2 separate regions of the Homo sapiens genome follow, and region 1 is linked to region 2. The links are contacts of gene promoters, found by promoter capture Hi-C in blood cells and fetal thymus (Javierre and others, 2016). All regions are on one chromosome and are shown on one strand. The core of a region is centred on a gene start or on the middle of the fragment in contact, and the rest is flanking DNA. Distances in the headings are between cores, read along the strand shown. Region 1 holds the start of ADAM15 (ADAM metallopeptidase domain 15). Region 2 holds the start of HCN3 (hyperpolarization activated cyclic nucleotide gated potassium channel 3).

Region 1 (4,357 bases), core at 1,321-3,820, 230 kb before region 2:
TGAGATTTAATACAGTCTGCTCATAGAAAAGCAAGAGGGCCGCACAGAAACAGGAGGCCCAAGGCAAAACCAAAGTTTCTACCAGAGGGCTGCAGACCAGAAGCTCAGTGCAGTTCAAGGGACAGGAGGAGGCAGGTGGGCTGGGAGTCAGGAAGGCCTCATGCAGGGGCACATGGTAAGGCACATGGAATCTGAGGAAGCAGACTCCAGTCCATACTCCCTCATTAAGTTGTGTCACCTTGGCCAAGGTCTTCACTGAGCCTCAGTTTCTCCCTCTGAAGAATGGCAAGACTGGAGAGATCTGTAAGGCCTGCTCACTGGAGATCAGCCTAGAGTGGTGGTCAGGTGTGGGACTCCGGTGCCAGAGGGCCTAAGTGTGTATCCCGGCTCCTTCCCTCATTACTATGACAACGGTGTGACCTTGAGCACATGACTTAACTGCTGTGCCTGGGCTTTTGCCTTCCATAAAATGGGGTTAACTACTCCATCTGGTTGTTTTAAGGATTAAATGAGTTGTACTTACATGGTGCTGGCATGCAGCAAGTTCCATATGCATGCATGTTATCATTGGGTGACCCTGGGCAGTGATCACATCTCCAAGCATCAGTTTTCTCACCTGAAAAAAAGGAGATGATAATAACACTATCTGCCTTACATGACAATTGAATTGAATTTTTTTTTTTTTTTGAGACTAAGTCTCACTCTGTCGCCCAGGCTGGAGTGCAGTGGCGTGATCTTGGCTCACTGCAACCTCCACCTCCCCAGTTCAAGCGATTCTCGTGCCTCAGCTTCCCGAGTAGCTGGGATTACAGGCACACACTACCACGCCCGGCTAATTTAGAATTGAAATAATTTATGTACAGTATCTTAGTACAGGACCTGACATTATAAACAATGAGTGGCAGCCATTCTTATTTAATCAGTCCTAACAAAGTTCATAAAAGTGAGACTGTGTTTGCTTAGCTTTTTCCCTAGGGCCTGGATACCCCCAGCCCCCATGACACACAATAGGGGCCAAATGAATGTGTTGTGAAAAAATGAAAAACAAAAAACAAAAAAGAACATGCTGGGATTCCTTGACAGGGTCGTGAAGCAAACTGAATGTGAATGCACAGATGGAAATGTGCCAGACAGTCATTCCAAGCAGAATGTGCAAAGACTCAGTCCACAGGGAATGCGAAGTGCCAGGGCTAGTCTCAGGAGAAACTGGCTCAGAAGAGACAGCTCTCAGGGAGGGCTAAAGTAGGAAAGAGGCTAGAAAGGGACCAGGTGAGGGAAGGCTCTGAAGGCCAAGCCCAAGAGTTCTGCCTGTCTGGCAGGCAGCAGGGCCTCTGGAGTTTCTTGGGCAAAGAGTGGCTGCTTCCTGGGTAAGGTGGCCTGTGGAAAATCCCTGACAACTGTGTAGAGACATGTCGTGAGGGATGGCAGGGAGCATAGTGAACTAGGTTTGTGGTTTGGAATCAGGGCCCCTGGGGTCCAGCCAAGTTGGATTGTTTACTATCTGTGTGACTTTGAGAGTCACTTCACCTTTCTCAACTGTAAAGTGGGGATAGCAACAGTGATAGTCGATCTGGCCTGCTCACTTCTCAGCCTCACTGTGAGAACCAAATAAGATGATTTACAGGAAAGTGCAAATGAGAGTTGTGGCTGATATCCGCTTGGAGAGAGCCTGGAGGGTGCATCCTCCCATTCTCCATCACAGAGTTGGGGAGGGAGGCACCCTCGCCCTCCAGGGGTTTCCTTTGTCCAACCCAGCCTCCTCCAACACGCGGGAATTGTCAGGCCTGGCGACTTCAGACAGGAAACGCTGTCCAGTTCCCCTTCTTTCCCGCCTCGCTCCCGGGCTGGCGCTAACGCCCACCTCCCAACAGCGCCACCCGCTGGCGGATATCCTGCACCGCGGCTGCCCGCTCCTGCGCCGCTGGCTGTGCCGGCGCTGCGTGGTGTGCCAGGCACCCGAGACGCCCGAGTCCTACGTGTGCCGGACGCTGGACTGCGAGGCCGTGTACTGCTGGTCGTGCTGGGACGACATGCGGCAGCGGTGCCCGGTCTGCACGCCCCGCGAAGAGCTCTCTTCCTCCGCCTTTAGTGACAGCAACGACGACACTGCCTACGCGGGGTGAAGAGGCGTCCTGCTCGCTCTTCCGCACCGTCCTTCCCGGTTAATAAAATGCCCTGTACGCTTCACGTGGGTCGGGGACTGGGGTGAGCCGCGCACTGCCTCGCCTGCAGTCGGGAAAGCCTGCCCGCCCGACCTCTCCGAGCCAGGCCGCGCACAGGAGGCAGGGAGGCCGCGAAGCTACTAGGGAGGGGTCCGGACCTGGCGCCGGGTGAAGGCGCGCCGCCCAAGCCGGTCGGACCGGGCACCGGCTCCCACTCCGCACAGTTGCGGGGAAGCGGTAGCGCTGAGCAGCGCGGGCGTAGTGGGCGGTGTCCCCGCTCCCGAGGCACCCGGCGCGCAGCGGGGCGGGCTTTGCCGGGGGCGGAGCTTGGCTTGGGGCCGGGTGGGAGGGGGCGGGCCGGGGCGGGGCCTGGTGGCCGCGCGGCGCTGCTGGGTTCTCCGAGGCGACCTGGCCGCCGGCCGCTCCTCCGCGCGCTGTTCCGCACTTGCTGCCCTCGCCCGGCCCGGAGCGCCGCTGCCATGCGGCTGGCGCTGCTCTGGGCCCTGGGGCTCCTGGGCGCGGGCAGCCCTCTGCCTTCCTGGCCGCTCCCAAATATAGGTGAGTCCTCCGCCTGGAGTGGGTCGGGGGGCGGACTGGGAGGGAGGTGCAGGAAAGTCGGAAGGCATTAGGGTAATGGGGCCGGACGGAGACCCTGGGAGAGCCCAGCCAGAGCGCGGCCCGCCCTGGTCCGCTGTCCTGGGCCTAGGGCCCGGTGACTTGGCGATGGGGTGAAAAGAGAAGGAGGGGGGATGCCGGCGCCCCCTGCCTCCTGCCTGGTCATCCTCTGCGCGGTCCCTGCGGACACTTTCAGGCTCAGGTACCAGGTACCGAGGGGCCTGTCCAGCGCCACTTCAAGATCGTGATGAGAGGGTCGCTGCTCCCCAGGACTGGCATCTTCGCTGCTCTGGGGCCTAGCTAACCGTTCGACCCGGTGCCAGGGCGCTGAGCGGGCATGGCTTGTAGGGTTTAGTGAAGAGGATTCTCTCTAGCCTCTATTCCAGGCCTGGGGCCGCCAGGCACTCCTCACCCTGGTGCTGTTGCCACCAGTGCCTGGCCGAGCGGGAGGGGCCCGAGATGAGCCAGGAGAAGGGAGAATTGGCCAGGAAAGAGGCTGGGACACCAACTCCTCCTTGGAACTTTCACTTCCCGCTGCTGTCTTGGGCCGGGACCGAGAGGGCAGGCGCGGGTGGAGTGTCCGGAGGAGAGAGGGCCATTGTGTGTTGGGGGGGTGGGGGGTGCTCGAGGAGGAAGCAGAGGCTGTAGGCAGCGGGTGTGCCTGACTGGGCATGAGGGTGTTTAGGGAGGTGGGGGTGTTTGCACTGCTCACCCAGAAATGGGCGTTCCTGGCATCTCCGATGTGAGCGAAGGGGAGGGTGAGCGGGCACCCGGCCACAAGGCTTAGCTCAGTCTCGAGAGGGGGCGTTCCTGAAGTGGGGGGAGAGTGATTGGGAGGGAGTGGGAACCGGGGAGGGTCCTGTGAGAACCTGGGATTGGCCGGAAGGGGACAAGGAGGGCCACAGGCTGCGCAAGCCGAAAGTCTTTCTTGGGGACTTGTGAATGGGTTGGTGGGTGGAAAGCCATAAATTAGAGAGACACCCTCTCCTTCCAGTATTCTTCTTTAAGTCTCAGCATGCAATGTGGAAGCCCCTCAGGTACCTAAGGGTCTTGATGGGCTGGGAGCTGGTGGATCTGAGGGCACCTGTCACCCCCAGCCCTGCTGTCGATTCCCTCAGTACTGTCTTGGGGTGTCCTGGGACCTGCAGGTGGCACTGAGGAGCAGCAGGCAGAGTCAGAGAAGGCCCCGAGGGAGCCCTTGGAGCCCCAGGTCCTTCAGGACGATCTCCCAATTAGCCTCAAAAAGGTGCTTCAGGTGAGCTCTCACTCCCCTCTAATAAATAAACGAATCCACACACGCCCCGGTATAGCCAGGTGTCTCAAAGCCAAAGCTTGGCTGAGGAGCTGGTGGGTAGAGCTCACTGTAGTGGGTCTATCCCAGGCCCAGCTGCCTCTCCCACCACACCCCAGCACCTGGCTTCACTTATCTCCCTCTCCCTCTGCACACACGTGTATCTGTCTGCCTCAGCCCCACCCAACCCATCCATCTCCACTGGGGAAATTGTGAAGCCAAACTTGCTTTCTTCATCTCATGTTGTCGGTTTTCTCAGTGGGGGGATTTGGAAAGAGTCAGGACCTTA
Region 2 (4,414 bases), core at 1,089-3,588:
GCCTGGCCAACCTGGTGAAACCCTGTCTCTACTAAAAATACAAAAATTAGCCGGGTGTGATGGCAGGTGCCTGTAATCCCAGCTATTTGGAAGGCTGAGGCACGAGAATCGCTTGAATCCAGAAGGTGGAGGTTGCAGTGAGCCGAGATGGTGCCATTGCACTCCAGCCTGGGCGACAGAGTGAGACTGTGTCTAAAATAAAATAAAATAAAAAATAAAAATTAGCCATTCATGGTGTCTCCCACCTGTAGTCCCAGCTACTCGGGAGGCTGAGGTGGGAGGATCACCTGAGCCTGGGGAGGTTGAGGCTGTAGTGACCCGTGATCGTGCCACTGCACTCCAGCTTGGGCGACAGAGTGAGACTCTATCTCAAAAAAAAAAAAAAAAAAAAAAGAAAAGAAAAGAAAAAAAGAAAATGAGAAAGAGAAAGAGTTAGAGACTTTACAGAAGGAATTGAGAAGTGGTCAGAAAGGTCAATTGAAAGAGAAATAATATAATCTGAGAATAACGATATTAAAGTCAGGGAGCTGAGCAAGGTGGCTCACACCTGTAGTCCCAGCTACTCAGGAAACTGAGGTGGGAAGATTGCTTTGAGGCTGCAGTGGGTCATGATCACACCACTGCACTCCAGCTTGAGCAACAGAGCAAGACCCTGACTCTAGAATGAGTAAATAAATAAAGTCAGGAAATATTAGAGAGGAGCTGGATGAAGGATGGTCAGATGGAGGTTAGATCAGATAACCAGACATAGTTTAGAGAAGTTCCCTGGAATAGAACATGGAGAGCAATCAATGAAGGAGTCGGGGAGAGAGAAGTAAAGATTTCACTTCCACCTCCTGGAACATTTTCCTAGATTATTAATTCATTCAACAAGCATTTACTGAATGTCCACTATGTGTCCAGAATTATGCCAGGTGCAAGGTTCCTGTTTCTCAGAGTTTCACAATCTAACAGGAGAGAAAATCTGTAAATAAATAATGAGACCATGCTCATGCCTGTAATCCTAGCACTTTGGGAAGCCAAGGCAGGAAGATCACTTGAGCTCTGAGTTCAAAACCAGCCTGGGCAACATAGTGTGACCTCATCTCTAAAATAATAATAATAATGGTAGCCCTGTGACATGAGTTGCTCAAAACAGTGGTGCCCTGGCTGCTGTAAAAAAGCTCTAGAATAGACCCTACCTGAGGAAAGGAGAGTTGGAAATGTGTTCCTAGGTTTCCTAGAGAAAGCAAGATCTGAACCAACTGTTCGAAAGTGAATTGGAGGAGAATACCAGGCAGAGAAAATATTTGCAAAAGCATAGAGACAAGGCAGCACAAAGTCTTTCAGCATGATTGGGGCTGTGGCTTTCAAGAGAGGGACTGTCAGAAGAGAGACTGTTGAAACTAGGTCCAAATTTTTTGGGCCTGGTACACCATGCTAAGCAGCTTAAATGTACCCCTGTAGAAGATGGGAAAGCTTGATGGGCTTCAAGCAAGTGACACAGCCATAGTTGGATTTTAGGAAGGTAACTGGCAGGGAATGGAAGAAGAATTGGCCTGGAAGAGGTTGAAGACTCTTTTAGAGGTTTCCGAAGTAATTTAAGTGAAAAAATGCTGAGGGCTTGAAATGAGGCAGTGGTAATAAGAATTGGAGATGAAGGGGAGAATTTGAGATATTTAGGAATTTGTAGCACTTCGCATAGCACTGCAATTTACCTGTCTGTCGTTGGGCACAGATGAGCAGTGGCTTTATGGCTAGGCCTTTGTTTTTGTTTTGTTTTGTGTTGTTTTCCATTACTACATGGAGATGCTAAGACTAGGACTTTTGTATTCATTTTTGTTTCCTCAGCATCCACTCAATGACAGGCAGAGTTGCACTTGGTGAAGGCTGACAGAATGAATTAGGAAATTAAATACTAGGGGAAGCAGTTCGGAGGAGACCAAAAGACAAGAATATGCCTAGGACAGTGTTGAGAGAAGACGGGAGCAGGACAGAAGTCCCTGGGCGAGAGTGGAGAAGAATCCCAAAAGCCATTTCCACTTCTTCCATTGGTCCCCAATCCCTCTCCCTCCCAAGTCCTTCAAGCTACAAACCCGCGTCCGATTTTCCCGCCACTGCAGGGGGCTCCTCCTCCCTGGTTCTCAGTGGATGAAAGGCCAACGCTAGGCCACGCCCTCTCCCTGGCTCAGGCTGCGCTCCCCGCCTTCTTTGCTAAGCCACGCCCCTCTCGGAGTTCCTCCAGGATCCCGGCGTCCCAGCCCCGCCCGGTCTTGGCGCGGCCCTCGCCAGGGGGCGCCGCGCAGCCCGCCCGCCGCCCGCCAGTCTAGCACACACCCCCTCCGCCCCGCGCGCCGGCGATTCCGAGCCTACGACGCCTCCGCTAGAGCCCGCGGGGCTGCGCCGACTCCTGCTCTGGAGGGGTTGCGGGTACCTGATGGCCACAGAGGGCTCTAGGAGGCCGAGCGTGTAAGCGGGGTGGGCGCCATGGAGGCAGAGCAGCGGCCGGCGGCGGGGGCCAGCGAAGGGGCGACCCCTGGACTGGAGGCGGTGCCTCCCGTTGCTCCCCCGCCTGCGACCGCGGCCTCAGGTCCGATCCCCAAATCTGGGCCTGAGCCTAAGAGGAGGCACCTTGGGACGCTGCTCCAGCCTACGGTCAACAAGTTCTCCCTTCGGGTGTTCGGCAGCCACAAAGCAGTGGAAATCGAGCAGGAGCGGGTGAAGTCAGCGGGGGCCTGGATCATCCACCCCTACAGCGACTTCCGGTATTGGGGGCTTGGCGGGGAGGGCAGGGTACATCAATCCCACCCTCGCGGGCAGCGACACCGGGACCCGGCCCGCCCCACCCTCCACGGTCACTTCATTTCCAGCCCGGGGTCCCTTGGTGGGGCGGGAGAGTCACTTGCACCAGTCTAGCCTGGGAATTCCTGGGCGGGTATCCCCTGCCGGAGGTCCTCCGTGCCTGGACAGGCTGGGGGCACCAGAAGGGGCAAGCAGACATCAGGGGATCTCCAGAGACCTGGATTTCCTCTTTCAGGAACCCGGGACCCCATCCGGACCAAAGGAACTACCAGAGTTTGGGACCCCTGCCTCCTCCAGTCCTGCTTGCTGGAGATCTAGGAAATTATATTCTAAGTATCGGGGCCAGTCTGAGGGAGAAGCCGAGCTCCGCCATCTCCCATCCCCACACCCGCTCCTTAGCACCTGCCTAGTTCAGCATGACAGACTACCAGGAAAAATAGGGACGCTGAAGGGGGCGGGGGGTCCAGACCTCAGCTCTGGTCGCTGTCCCTAGTGCTGAAGGCGGGGGCGGCGGGGCGGGGCCGAGACTCAGAGTGACTGAGGCGGCAAAGCAGGGGCAGGACCACCACCCAGGTGACTCCCAGAGAAGGAACAGAGGGTGGGGGTGGGGCCATTTCACAGTCTCCGTCAGGGTGTACCTCTACATCAAGGTCGCTAGGGGAAGACAGCAGCCCTGTCCTTGGGGGAAATGAAGGACAGCTCTTGGATGAGGCAGGGATGTGTGCAAAGCACCTAACCTGGGGAACTAAAGAAGCAGAGAGGAAGAGGTGTGAATCTGGAGCCTCGAAATACAGTTGTAGACCCAGACATTATCTTGAATCCACATATATACACACTCCCTCTATGTCTCTCTTCCTCCCATTGTTCCTTTCACTCCTGTCTTTGCTGCCTCGTTCCCACCCAGCCAGTGCGCCTTTTCTAGTCTCCTGTGGATCTCACTCTCTTCCCTCAGTTCACTCGCAGACGGATCCCCAGAAGCCTGGTATCCCTCTGATTGTGCTTCTCCATTCTCTATACTACATCACCCGCCAGGCTTGTGACCCACCTGTGAGTCAGGCTGTGAAGATGCTTTCATGGCTAGGCGAACCCTCTTTCCCTCCCCTCTCTTAGTGTCTCACAATACAGGATTCCTCCTCAGCAGCCGAGGAGAGAAAAGAAGAATGGCCGAGGGTTTTTGTTTATTGAAAACATACAGTCTAAGGGGCTTCCCAGAGGCCCGGACTTGAGGAAGTTTCTTTCAGGGCTGAAAATTGATTTTGCAGTCCGAGTCAGAAGGGGCTAGCTCCTGAGTTGACACTGGGATTAGGTGTGTCCTAGAATTAAAACCACCATAGGTAACTGAGTCCCTGAGATTTTCCTGTGCCATTCTCTGAATGAGGGCTTCACACAGTTCCCTCTTGACCTCTTCTTTCCACGGTGTCTGCCACAGCAATGTCACTCACCCCTGCCCATGCCTCTGCCTGTGCTCAGCCAGAGTCCCAGTGGACACAGGGAGGCCAGAGGAGGAAAGGTATGCAGAACTCAAGCCTTGCTGCTTCATGATCTCCTGTGGAGCTTCTCTGTGTGTGCAGCCCTGTTTGAGGTTCTGTGGAGGGGGAAGGGCATCCCTGGAAAGCTCAATTCAGAGGAAGGC

Evidence for each region. The method cuts DNA at HindIII sites, captures the fragments that hold promoters and counts their contacts. A CHiCAGO score of 5 or more calls a contact.
Region 1: a contact is called between the fragment with the promoter of ADAM15 here and the fragment with the promoter of HCN3 in region 2, in 3 of 17 cell types (neutrophils, activated CD4 T cells and non-activated CD4 T cells). The highest score is 5.6, in neutrophils.

Annotation. Positions count from the first base shown.
Region 1 is chr1:155,048,746-155,053,102 of GRCh38, forward strand. ADAM15 (ADAM metallopeptidase domain 15) reads left to right here and starts at 2,571. Exons shown (of 23, transcript NM_207197.3): 1 at 2,571-2,720; 2 at 3,926-4,032. The coding sequence starts at 2,642. DCST1 (DC-STAMP domain containing 1) reads left to right here. Exons shown (of 17, transcript NM_152494.4): 17 at 1,872-2,185. The coding sequence ends at 2,123. It overlaps DCST1-AS1 (DCST1 antisense RNA 1), which reads right to left. Exons shown (of 4, transcript NR_040773.1): 2 at 524-616. ADAM15-EFNA4 (ADAM15-EFNA4 readthrough) reads left to right here and starts at 2,571. Exons shown (of 26, transcript NR_176418.1): 1 at 2,571-2,720; 2 at 3,926-4,032. RefSeq lists an enhancer at 1,746-1,805 and a silencer at 2,276-2,735. The HindIII fragment of the contact is 11,546 bases long and covers 1-4,106 here.
Region 2 is chr1:155,275,125-155,279,538 of GRCh38, forward strand. HCN3 (hyperpolarization activated cyclic nucleotide gated potassium channel 3) reads left to right here and starts at 2,339. Exons shown (of 8, transcript NM_020897.3): 1 at 2,339-2,744. The coding sequence starts at 2,467. The HindIII fragment of the contact is 9,883 bases long and covers 1,457-4,414 here.